2 separate regions of the Homo sapiens genome follow, and region 2 is linked to region 1. Evidence: promoter capture Hi-C in human tissues and cell types (Jung and others, 2019). All regions are on one chromosome and are shown on one strand. Each heading gives the region's core, a stretch centred on a gene start or on the middle of the fragment in contact. The rest is flanking DNA. Distances are from core to core; before and after follow the strand shown. Region 1 has its middle 44 kb from the start of LINC02832. Region 2 holds the start of SPEG (striated muscle enriched protein kinase).

The links. Contacts are between HindIII fragments. The study calls those that stand out against the background at their distance.
Region 2: the fragment with the promoter of SPEG here is called in contact with a fragment that was not itself captured in region 1 in 2 of the 25 tissues and cell types used here (H1 embryonic stem cells and dorsolateral prefrontal cortex).

Annotation. Positions count from the first base shown.
Region 1 is chr2:219,683,769-219,689,140 of GRCh38, forward strand. It overlaps the pseudogene DNAJB6P3. Among named protein-coding and RNA genes, the nearest start is that of LINC02832, 44 kb to the right of the region's middle. RefSeq lists enhancers at 243-1,442, 579-1,142, 3,963-4,526, 4,207-5,372, 4,527-5,090 and 1 more. The HindIII fragment of the contact is 9,661 bases long and covers 1-5,372 here.
Region 2 is chr2:219,432,275-219,437,313 of GRCh38, forward strand. SPEG (striated muscle enriched protein kinase) reads left to right here and starts at 2,569. Exons shown (of 41, transcript NM_005876.5): 1 at 2,569-3,091. The coding sequence starts at 2,704. The HindIII fragment of the contact is 17,008 bases long and covers 1-5,039 here.

The DNA.
Region 1 (5,372 bases), core at 2,595-5,094:
CCTCTTTTTTTTCTTTCTTTTGTAAATTGCCCAGTCTCAGGTAAGTCTTTATCAGTAGCATGAAAACGGACTAATACAGTCTCAAATAAACTCAAAAGTCTATGACAAATAGGGGCTCTGATGAGCTGTTTTTAAATACTTTAGATTAGGTGCAACTATACTGAAAGGCAAGTTTGTTTGAAATCGTCAAAAAATTGTTCCTGTTAATCTTCAAATGGTGCTTGTTGTAGTTGAACATTTCTGTTAAATGTGTGCATTGAATTGCTTGTTATCCAAGCTCAGCTGCTGCCTGCCCCTCACCATGTATTGTTAAAGACTTTATTTAACTGGCCATCATTTAACTGGCTGTCATCTTCAACTTCTACTCTTTCTTGACAATTCTCTTTGTTGTGGTTTTTCTGCTGTTAACCATTTTAGTAGAAGTTGATATCAATTTGAAGTTGCCCATCCCACTACCACCAAATGACATGGAAGAGAATGAAGTGAGGCCCCTGTGACCTAGTGACCTGATTGAAATAAATCCTGTATCAAAAGAAGAAAATCCACTTCCAAAAGATGGAAATCCAGTGAAGGCAGAGAAAAATGACCACATCCCTCGGCCTCTGCTTCCTCGGGGATCCCCTCCAATTCCCAAAAAAGTCCTCAAATGAATCTTCAAAGGAGTTGAATGAAAATGGGTCCCTTCCACCAAATAGTTCCCTGAAGACATCACCTGGGTTATGGAATGTGAAGCCAAGCTCACACGGACTGACAAAATGACTTCTATCTCCTACCTCCCTCATTTAATACTTCTTGGCTGTAATTGTCACTTTTTTTTTTTTGCTGTGGATGTCTTTTTTTTTAAAAAAAGCATCTGGTAGCACCTCATATGGCTCAGTCACTTGTTTGAATTTTCTCTCTGCTTCTTTCCTCTCAGGGTATTTTTTTTTTCTGGGTGCCAATTCAGGGCCAGTTTCCAATATGCCTTTTTAATGTCCTCAGGTGAGGCATGTCTCTGCATGCCTGGAACTTCTTGGTAATCCACCCTGTTTTAGCAGATTGCTGGAAAGAGGAGGCAGGGAGACAGCCCAGGTCTCCTCTGGGCTCCCGCACACTGTGCTGGTGGTGGCGGTGGCAGCCCCTTGTGCTCTCCTTTCTCTTTCGCCTCTTATCCATGTATCTGGCCTTGACAAGATCACCATTGGCCTGGGTTGGCTGATTCCCGATCAATTCACCACAGACAGAGAGATCTGGGGACCTCTGAATCACAAGTGTGGGCAGGGTCTCCACCTGAAACGTCACCAAGTGTTTGATAGCCTCAAGGGGCCACAAAGAGTGAGGGTGAGTTCCCCAAAGGGTCAGGAGAAGACAGTGGGTAAAGCATCCTGGGTAGACTAAACCACAGTCTTCTATAAGCAGGTAATTTAGGTGCAGCTGAGACAGACAGGTAGTCAGGGCTCGCCGGAGCGGCTCGGATCCACCTACGCACTGGGAGGAGGGTGGAGCCACGGAAGCTCGCACTATTTGCAGTGGGGAGGAGCTTGGCCTCTCCTGTTCTGGGTTGGTACCCTGGGGATTCAATCTGTGAGGCAGGAAGCCAGCTAGTAGGACTTTCACTTTGTTGGGAGTTCCTATTTCCTTTTTTTCCTCTTTGCCCAATAAATTCAATTTTTCTCACCCTTCAAAGTGCCTGTGAGCCTAATCTCTCCTGGCTATGTGACAAGGACCCCGTTTTTAGCTGAACTAAGGAGAAAGTCCTACAACATAACTAGATGAGGTTACGGCAGGCACTAAATCTGCCCCGAGTGCTTGACTCAGCCTCACTTGATCCGCTGCAACAGCCTCCCCTCTGGACTGAGATGGTGAGCATCAGCCAAGGCAGGACTCGGCACACGGTGCAGTCAGCAGCCTCTCCAGGGACATGCCAAGGTTTCCAGGAGGCCAGTCTTTGCTGGAAATTTCTCAGTGACCACTTTTCCCCCTTTCTTTCTTTCTTTTCTTTCTTTCTTTTTTTTTTTTTTTTTTTGAGGTGGAGTCTCACTCTGTTGCCCAGGCTGGAATGCAGTGGCGTGATCTCGGCTCACTGCAACCTCCACCTCCCTGGTTCGAGCAATTCCCCTGCCTCAGCCTCCGGAGTAGCTGGGATTACAGGCGCACGCCACCACGCACAGCTAATTTTTTTTTTTTTTTTTTTGTATTTTTAGTAGAGACAGGGTTTTGCCACGTTGGCCAGACTGGTCTCAAACTCCTGACCTCAGGCTAACTGCCTGCCTCGGCCTCCCAAAGTGCTGGGATTACAGGCGTGAGCCACCGTGCCTGGCCTTCCCCCTTTCTTTACCTGCCTTCCTGTTGGATGGATACATGGCTATTTTCTTACTGTTAGAGACACATTCTCTCTCTCTCTCTCTCTCTCTCTCTCTCTCTCTCTGTCCATCTCTCCTCTCCCTTTGTCTCTCTCATTAAAGCAAATAACATAGCAGGAGGAATGGGAAAAGTAGCAAATCCCAGGCTAGTCTCATCATTTCTGGGCTGAAATGGAACCACTTGTGGTGTGTGGAATCGTGGCATCCGGCATGCCACATTCCCTGCTCCCTGTTGTCCTGCCCTGTCTGTCTGCTACAATCACCTGGAGCCCCTCCCTCAACCAAGACATCAACAACAGAAACAAAACTGCTTCCTCTGACCAGCAGGAAATTTCCAGGTGAACACACTCTGGCTTAAGTAATTAGGCAAAGAATGTGGCTTTGTGCAGTTGTGGAGAGACTCAACTTGCTCTTAGAGTCTTTGTTTCTGTTCAGTCCCTGGAGTGCCCCTGCTTTCACTGCTGTCCTTTGCCACTAGACCGGGCAGAAATCCGCCTTTTTCCTGCATTCCTTCCACTGTTGTTGATTCAGCTCATTTTACATACCAAGGCACCTTTCCTGATTCCATTCTTTGGCCAAAGACTCCCTCAGAACTTTAAGAACTTTAAGCCACCAAATGCAGCAGGCACTTTTTTTTTTTTTTTTGAGATGGAGTCTCGCTCTGTTGTCCTGGCTCACTGCAACCTCCACCTCCTGGGTTCAAGTAATTCTTCTGCCTCAGCCTCCCAAGTAGCTGGGGCTATAGGCGAGCGCCACCACACCCGGCTAATTTTTGTATTTTTAGTAGAGATAGGGTTTCACCATATTGGCCAGGCTGGTCTCGAACTCCTGACCTCGTGATCCGCCTGCCTTGGCCTCCCAAAGTGCTGGGATTACAGGCGTGAGCCACGGCGCCTGGCCAGCAGGCACCTCTTATGCTTGCTTTGAAAATATACTTATGAGGTTAGTGCCCATCTTCCTGTCTTATGATTCGAATCCTTTCCTTCTTTCTTCCCTAATTCCTGTTCTTTTTCTCTCATGACCCCTGGCTACCCATTAGCCTTTGGAAAAATTCTATTATGTTTGCCTGTTTGTTTTTTTCTTTTTAATGTATATGTTACCAGAAAGGGGTCCCAATCCAGACCCCAAGAGAAGGATCTTGGATCTCACACAACAAAGAATTTCAGGCGAATCCACAGAGTAAAGTGAAAGCAAGTTTGTAAGAAAGTAAAAGAATAAAAGAATGGCTACTCCATAGACAAAGCAGACCCGAGGGCTGCTGGCTGGCTATTTTTATGGTTACTTCTTGATCATATGCTAAACAAGGGGTGGATTATTCATGAGTTTTCTGGGAAAGGCGGGGGGTGGGAGGATTTCCTAGAACTAAGGATTCCTTTCCTTTTAGACCATATAGGGTAACTTCCAGAGTTTGCCATGGCATTTATAAGCTGTCATGGTGCTGGTGGGAGTGTCTTTTAGCATGCTTATGTATAAGTAGTGTACAATGAGCAGTGATGATGACCAGAGGCCACTTTTGTCACCATCTTGATTTTGGCAGGTTTTGTCCAGCTTCTTTACTGCATCCTGTTTTATCAGTAGGGTTTTTGTGACCTGTATCTTGTGATAATGGTCCTGCCAACCTCCTGTCTTTTTTTTTTTTTTTTTTTGAGACGGAGTCTTGCACTGTTGTCCAGACTACTGGAGTGCAGTGGCGCAATCTCGGCTCACTGCAAGCTCCGCCTCCTGGGTTCATGCCATTCTCTTGCCTCAGCCTCCCGAGTAGCTGGGACTACAGGCGCCCGCCACCATGCCCAGCTAATTTTTTGTACTTTTAGTAGAGACGAGGTTTCACCGTGTTAGCCAGGATGGTCTCGATCTTCTGACCTCGTGATCCGCCCACCTCGGCTTTCCAAAGTGCTGGGGTTACAGGTGTGAGCCACCGCGCCCGGCGTAACCTCCTATCTCATCCTGTGACTAAGATTACCTAACCTCTTGGGAATGCAGCCCAGCAGGTCTCAGCCTCATTTCACCCAGCCACTGTTCAAAATGGAGTCACTCTGGTTCGAATGCCTCTGATGTGTACAAATCTATTGTGCTCATTGAAGCTTGCCTTTTTATACACTTCTTGGCTCAGAGAAATACTTTTTTTGGAGGCAGCAAATGTAGCAGAAAGAACAGGCAATTCTGAAGCAAGAAGAGTGATATGGTTAGGCTTTGTGTCCCCACCTAAATCTCATCTTGAATTGCAAACCCCGTCATCCTCACAGGTCAAGAGAGAGACCAGGTGGAGGTAATTAAACCACGGAGTGGTTTCCCCCATGCTGTTCTCGTGACAGGGAGTGAGTTCTCACGAGATCTGATGGTTTCATAAGGGGCTCTTCCCCCTTCATTCGGCCCTTCTTCCTCCCACCTTGTGAAGAAGGTGCCTTGCTTCCCCCTCACCTTCTGCCGTGATTGTAAATTTCCAGAGGCCTCCCCAGCCATGCTGCACGGTGAGTCAATTAAACCTCCTTCCTTTATAAATTACTCATTCTCGGGAAGTTCTTTATAGCAGTATGAAAACAGACTAATACAAAGAGTTTTCTGTGTTAACTCCCGGCACCGTCACTCACTGTTGTGACCTTGGGCAAGTTGCTTAAGCTCTCTGTGTCTGTTTCTTAATCTGTACAGTGGGTATGATATTAATACCTATCTCATAGGTATTTTTTTTTTTTGGTCTTAAATGATTCATGGGAAAAGTATGATGTATGCTGAGAAGCAGCACAAAGACATTTCATGTGTGCGGACCTCATGTACGTGGACCATGTGGAAGGCAGCTTTAGTCCTGACTGCAGAAAAGCGATGTTCACATGCGCGTTGGGAACTGGCCTGCGCACCCAGATTCCCAGATCCAGGAAAGCCCTTCATTTCCAGTGCTTTCCATCCTCGCTCCAGCGGCAGATGTTAGAAGCTGACTGAGATGTTTTCTGGATTAATTGCCCCCAAACATTCAGGGTTTTATGTTTTAGAATGTCTGAACAGGTTGGAATTTGAATCTCCCTTCTGCCACTC
Region 2 (5,039 bases), core at 1,319-3,818, 250 kb before region 1:
TATTTGTTTTTCGAAATACTCTCTATTCCTTTTTTCTTGATGTACCATCTGTTTGCAATGACTTCCCCCATATTGTCACCTTCTAGAATTCAATTTACACTTTAGAATTCGATTCATCATCAGTGGTTGCCAGAGGTTGGTGGAGGGGGTCTATGGTAGAGTCTATGACTCCGAAGGGGGTACATGAGCTAGTATTTGGGGTGATGGAATTGTTTGCTCTGTATGGTCCTGGAGTGGCAGATACATGATTCTATGCATTTGTCAAAACCCAGAGAACTGCACCTCATAAAAAAATAAACTTTAGGCCAGGCACGGTGGCTCACACCTGTAATCCCAGTGCTTTAGGAGGCTGAGGCAGGCAGATCACCTGAGGTCGGGAGTTCGAGACCAGCCCGACCAAAATGGAGAAACCCCGTCTCTACTAAAAATACAAAATTAGCTGGGTGTGGTGGTGCATGCCTGTAATCCCAGCTACTCGGGAGGCTGAGGCAGGAGAATTGCTCGAACCCGGGAGGAGGAGGTTGTGGTGAGCCGAGATCACACCATTGCACTCCGGCCTGGGCAACAAGAGTGAAACTCCGTCTCAAAAAAAAAAAAAACTTTAATGTATGCAAACTGTAAAAAAAATTATTCCTCAAGGTTCTTAACCTCTATGGATGTAATTCAGTGTTTAAATGGTTCCTCCTATACCTTTTACACACTGTCTCTCGCGCTCTCTCTCTTTCTCTTTGACTTCAGTATCCCAGAATGAGGATGGGGAAGAGGAGGCAAGGGTAAGAGTAACATTCTCTGCCTCTGAATACTCATGGCTCCTCTCAGCCCTTCCTGGGTTTCATCCCTCAGGGCTCAAGGTCAGGCCTGGGTCTCCTACTTGGACTTCTTAAAAAATTTTTTACTTTATGATAACTGTAGATTCACAGGCAATTATAAGAAATAATGCAGAGAGATCCTGAATTACCTTCACTTGGTTTCCTCCTAGGGTAACATCTTGTATGACTATAGTACAGCATCACAACCAGGAAAGGGGCATTGGTATAATCCACCTACCTTCTGCAAGTTTTACCAGTGTTACATGTACTGTTAGTGTTGCGTACAAGTGCAAATGCACATTTAGTTCTATGCAACTTTATCACTTGTGTAGATCCACATAACCACCACCATTACCACTGTCAAGATACAGAACTGTTCTGTTTTTGTTTTGTTTTGTTTTTTGAGACAGAGTCTCACTCTGTTGCCCAGGCTGCAGTGCAGTGGTGCCATCTAGGCTCACTGCAACCTCCACCTCCCAGGTTCAAGCGATTCTCCTGCCTCAGCCTCCTGAGTAGCTGGGACTACAGGCATGAGCCACTACACCTGGCTAATTTTTTGTATTTTTAGTAGAGACAGGTTTCACCATGTTGGCCAGGCTGGTGTTGAATTCCTGAGTTCAAGTGATCCACCCACCTCGGCCTCCCAAAGTGCTGGAATTACAGGTGTTAGCCACCGCGCCCAGCCAAGATACAGAACTGTTCTATCACAAAGGTCTCATCTGGACTCTTGATGTTTCTCAACGTGCAACACTTAGGCACATCAGAATCAGTTGAGTCATTTGTTAAATGTGCAGATTCCTCCCAGCTCAGCTGCTGAACCAGTGTGGGGCAAGGAGGCTGGGAATCTGGCCTTTACTTGAACTGGCCGTCATTTCTATCCATCCTCCACTTTGTGGCCGCCAAGAGGATCCTCCTAAGACACAGCTCCCACCGTGTTTTTTCTGCCGCTTAAAGCTGTGTAGTGGCGCCCCCTGCTTTCAGGGTAGAGAAACCAAAGCCTTAGCAAACAAAGCCTTCTCCAGGCCCCACCTCCCTTCTTCCACTCACCCCACCCACTACGCTTCAATCCCTCCAAACCTCTCTAATTCCCAGGACGCCTTTGTTTTCATCAGGCTCATTTTGTTCATGCCGTTCCCTCTGCCTGGAATGTCCTGCCCACTCTTTTCTGCCTATTGCAACCCTATTCCACCACCCATTCTTACAGATGAGGACTTGGAGGTTGAGAGAGGTTTGGTGTCACCCAGCAAGTAAGGGCAGGGCGCAGTGGAGGCCCCAATCCACCTGACTCCCAGGCTCCTGGTCTTACTGTTCGCCAGCTGTAATGGAGGCGCTGGGGGAGGCCATGGTCCCTCTTCGGAGCTGTCTGCTCACCTCCACTTGGGCCTGCCTCCCCATCCACCTCTCAGGCATCTCACCAGGACCGTTCCTCTTCTTCCCCTCCCAGCGAAGCCGGGCAGGGATGAGGGGTCTGAGATGAGGGAGGAAGGGAAATGGGATTGAGCCCAGGGGTAACCTGACTCCCTGCAGTGGGTCGTGTGGGGGCCAGGCACACTACGGAGGGGAAAGCCTGGAACAAATACCGAGGGACTCCCTTAAGCCGGGCCGGCGATGGGGGCTCCTGGAGGGAGAGAAGGAGCCAAGTGGAGTCAAGTCCCTCCCCTGCTGCCCCCTCCCTCCACGGCTCCCTCGCAACCCGAGCCGGGGGGCCTAAAAATAGCCCCCAGGCGCAATCGCCGGCCGCCCCGGTGACCTTCTGGGTAGCACAGGCCGAAGGCGGGCGGGCAGCAGGAAGGCAGGCCGCCGGCCCCCCAGACTTGTCTCCTAGGGCACCGTCCCGCGGGTGCCCCCGTGGCCGCCCAGTTCCGGCGTCCCCCCAGCCCAGCTCTCAGTGGCCATGCAGAAAGCCCGGGGCACGCGAGGCGAGGATGCGGGCACGAGGGCACCCCCCAGCCCCGGAGTGCCCCCGAAAAGGGCCAAGGTGGGGGCCGGCGGCGGGGCTCCTGTGGCCGTGGCCGGGGCGCCAGTCTTCCTGCGGCCCCTGAAGAACGCGGCGGTGTGCGCGGGCAGCGACGTGCGGCTGCGGGTGGTGGTGAGCGGGACGCCCCAGCCCAGCCTCCGCTGGTTCCGGGATGGGCAGCTCCTGCCCGCGCCGGCCCCCGAGCCCAGCTGCCTGTGGCTGCGGCGCTGCGGGGCGCAGGACGCCGGCGTGTACAGCTGCATGGCCCAGAACGAGCGGGGCCGGGCCTCCTGCGAGGCGGTGCTCACAGTGCTGGAGGTCGGAGGTAAAGGGCAGGTGGGGGCCGCGCCCGGCAGGGGCGGGGTGCTCAGAGGTAGAAAAGGGCTGCCCAGGCCACGCGGGTAAGGTACTGGATACTGGTTCCGCCGCCTTCTTCCCAGGTGCCCTGGCTTCTCGGCTGCCCGGCCCCAGAAGTGAGACGAAGAGCCAAGTGCAGGGAATGGGGTGTCAAGGTAGAGAGGCTCCCCACAGGAAGGTCAGAGGTCAAGGGGCAGCAAGCGGTTGATAAGCCAAGCCTGAGACCCACTCCCACCTCTCAGGGAATTCTGGGGTGGAAGTTCTTCTCCTCCTGTGGAGAAAAGCCTCCTGGGGGAAAGGGTGTCCTTCAGTTCCATGATTTAAACTTGAGATTGACACTCCGATCAGCTCCTTAACAGGGGAGTCCATGTCCGAAGGAGGGGGCCAGCTCCTCTGGTCCAGGCTGCACTGTTGAAGGGATGGCTCAGAGCTCCCTGCAGGCCATTGCCGTGGCAGGGTTGATGTGGTCAGCTCTAGGTGGGGTGTGGAAGAGGCCTATGGTTGGCCACGTGTGAACAGGGTCCAGGGTAGGAGGAGGTGGAGCCCGAGCCAGGGCCCCATGGGCATGAATGGAGGTGAGTGCTTGAGAATCCACATGCAGGTGTGTGCCTGCATGGGTGCTGTGGAGGGCCCTGGATTCTGTGTGGTGGTGCAAACAGGTGAGGTATGGGCACGTGGAGCTGGAATGGGAAGCTCCTGGACCATGTCTACCTGAGCTTCCAGAGTGGATGTTTCCAGAGCATGGAAGGGGGATGCTATGGACCAGTGCTTGTCCCCCGCCCATAGATTTCCAGGTGCAGTGTGAAGAAAAGGCTGAGGGTCTGAGGCAGAAGGGGAGGGCAAGAGGCTGGGCCCAGTGCTCATGGTCCAGCTGGGGCTACCATGGAGGCCAGGCCAGGGCCGTTAGCCTTGGATCCATTTGGGGGCTTCCTTTTTGATTTCCTCAGTCCTTGAGTAAGCCAAGTGGTACTTCTCTAGCCAAAGGCAGAGCCTTGGGCAGGCTGCGCCTTGAGAAACAGAATTCTGAGGAAGTAGGCTACAGCTGGGAGAGATGGCAAGGAGCTGGGGGTTCACTCCCTTGGACGTTTCTAAGAGGGACATGTCACTCCCCTGGGTGCTGCTGTGTAGGGGTAAATCCTTGGAGGCTGGGGAGGAGGCACAGGGAGGAAAGCCCTCAGCAGCAGGTGGGCAAGAAGTCTCTAGGACACAGCCAAGTCAGGAGAGGGAGCCGGGCTGGCCTCCCTCCATCGGCATCTCCTCCCCCCAGCCCTGCTCTGCCCACCTTCCTGGAGTCTCTGTGGCCAGGCCTGGGCCAGAGAGGGCCAAGGCTGGCGTCTCCTGGTTGGCCTAGCACCTGGACAAGTACAGGCCTCCCGAGCCTGGGATCAGGGGATGGGGTGCATTCTAGCAGACTTCGGAGCTGGGGAAGGTGTGGACTCCTTGGGGATCTCAGCTCTGGTCCCCCCAGGGGCAAAGAGGGCTGAAAATAGAACATAGATCAAAGGGTAAGATAGATGAGTTGATGAGAATATGACTGGGGGAGAGATTAGGGAAGGGAACGAAAGAGCTGACAAGGAGAGTAACAGTCATAATATAAGTTAAGGTTGGAAAGGACCACAGAGAACTGCAGCTCCAAACACATCCTTTCACAGGCAAGGACACTGTGGGCCAAAGATCAGGGAGCTCTGCCTAAGACGTACTAGTCTAGTTAGAGACATAGCTAGTTATGGCCATCCCAGAACTAAGAACCCAGTCCTCCTGGTTTTGGTTCTGGGGGCCTTGTACTCCTCAAGAAGTTCTGGAGAGAGAGGAAAGAGCGAGAGAGGGAGGGAGAGTACTGGGAAAGTAGCTGTCACATGATTGGCCCAGGCCTGGCATTTCTCAAGATGGATGTCTCCTGGCCTGCCTTGGTCCCT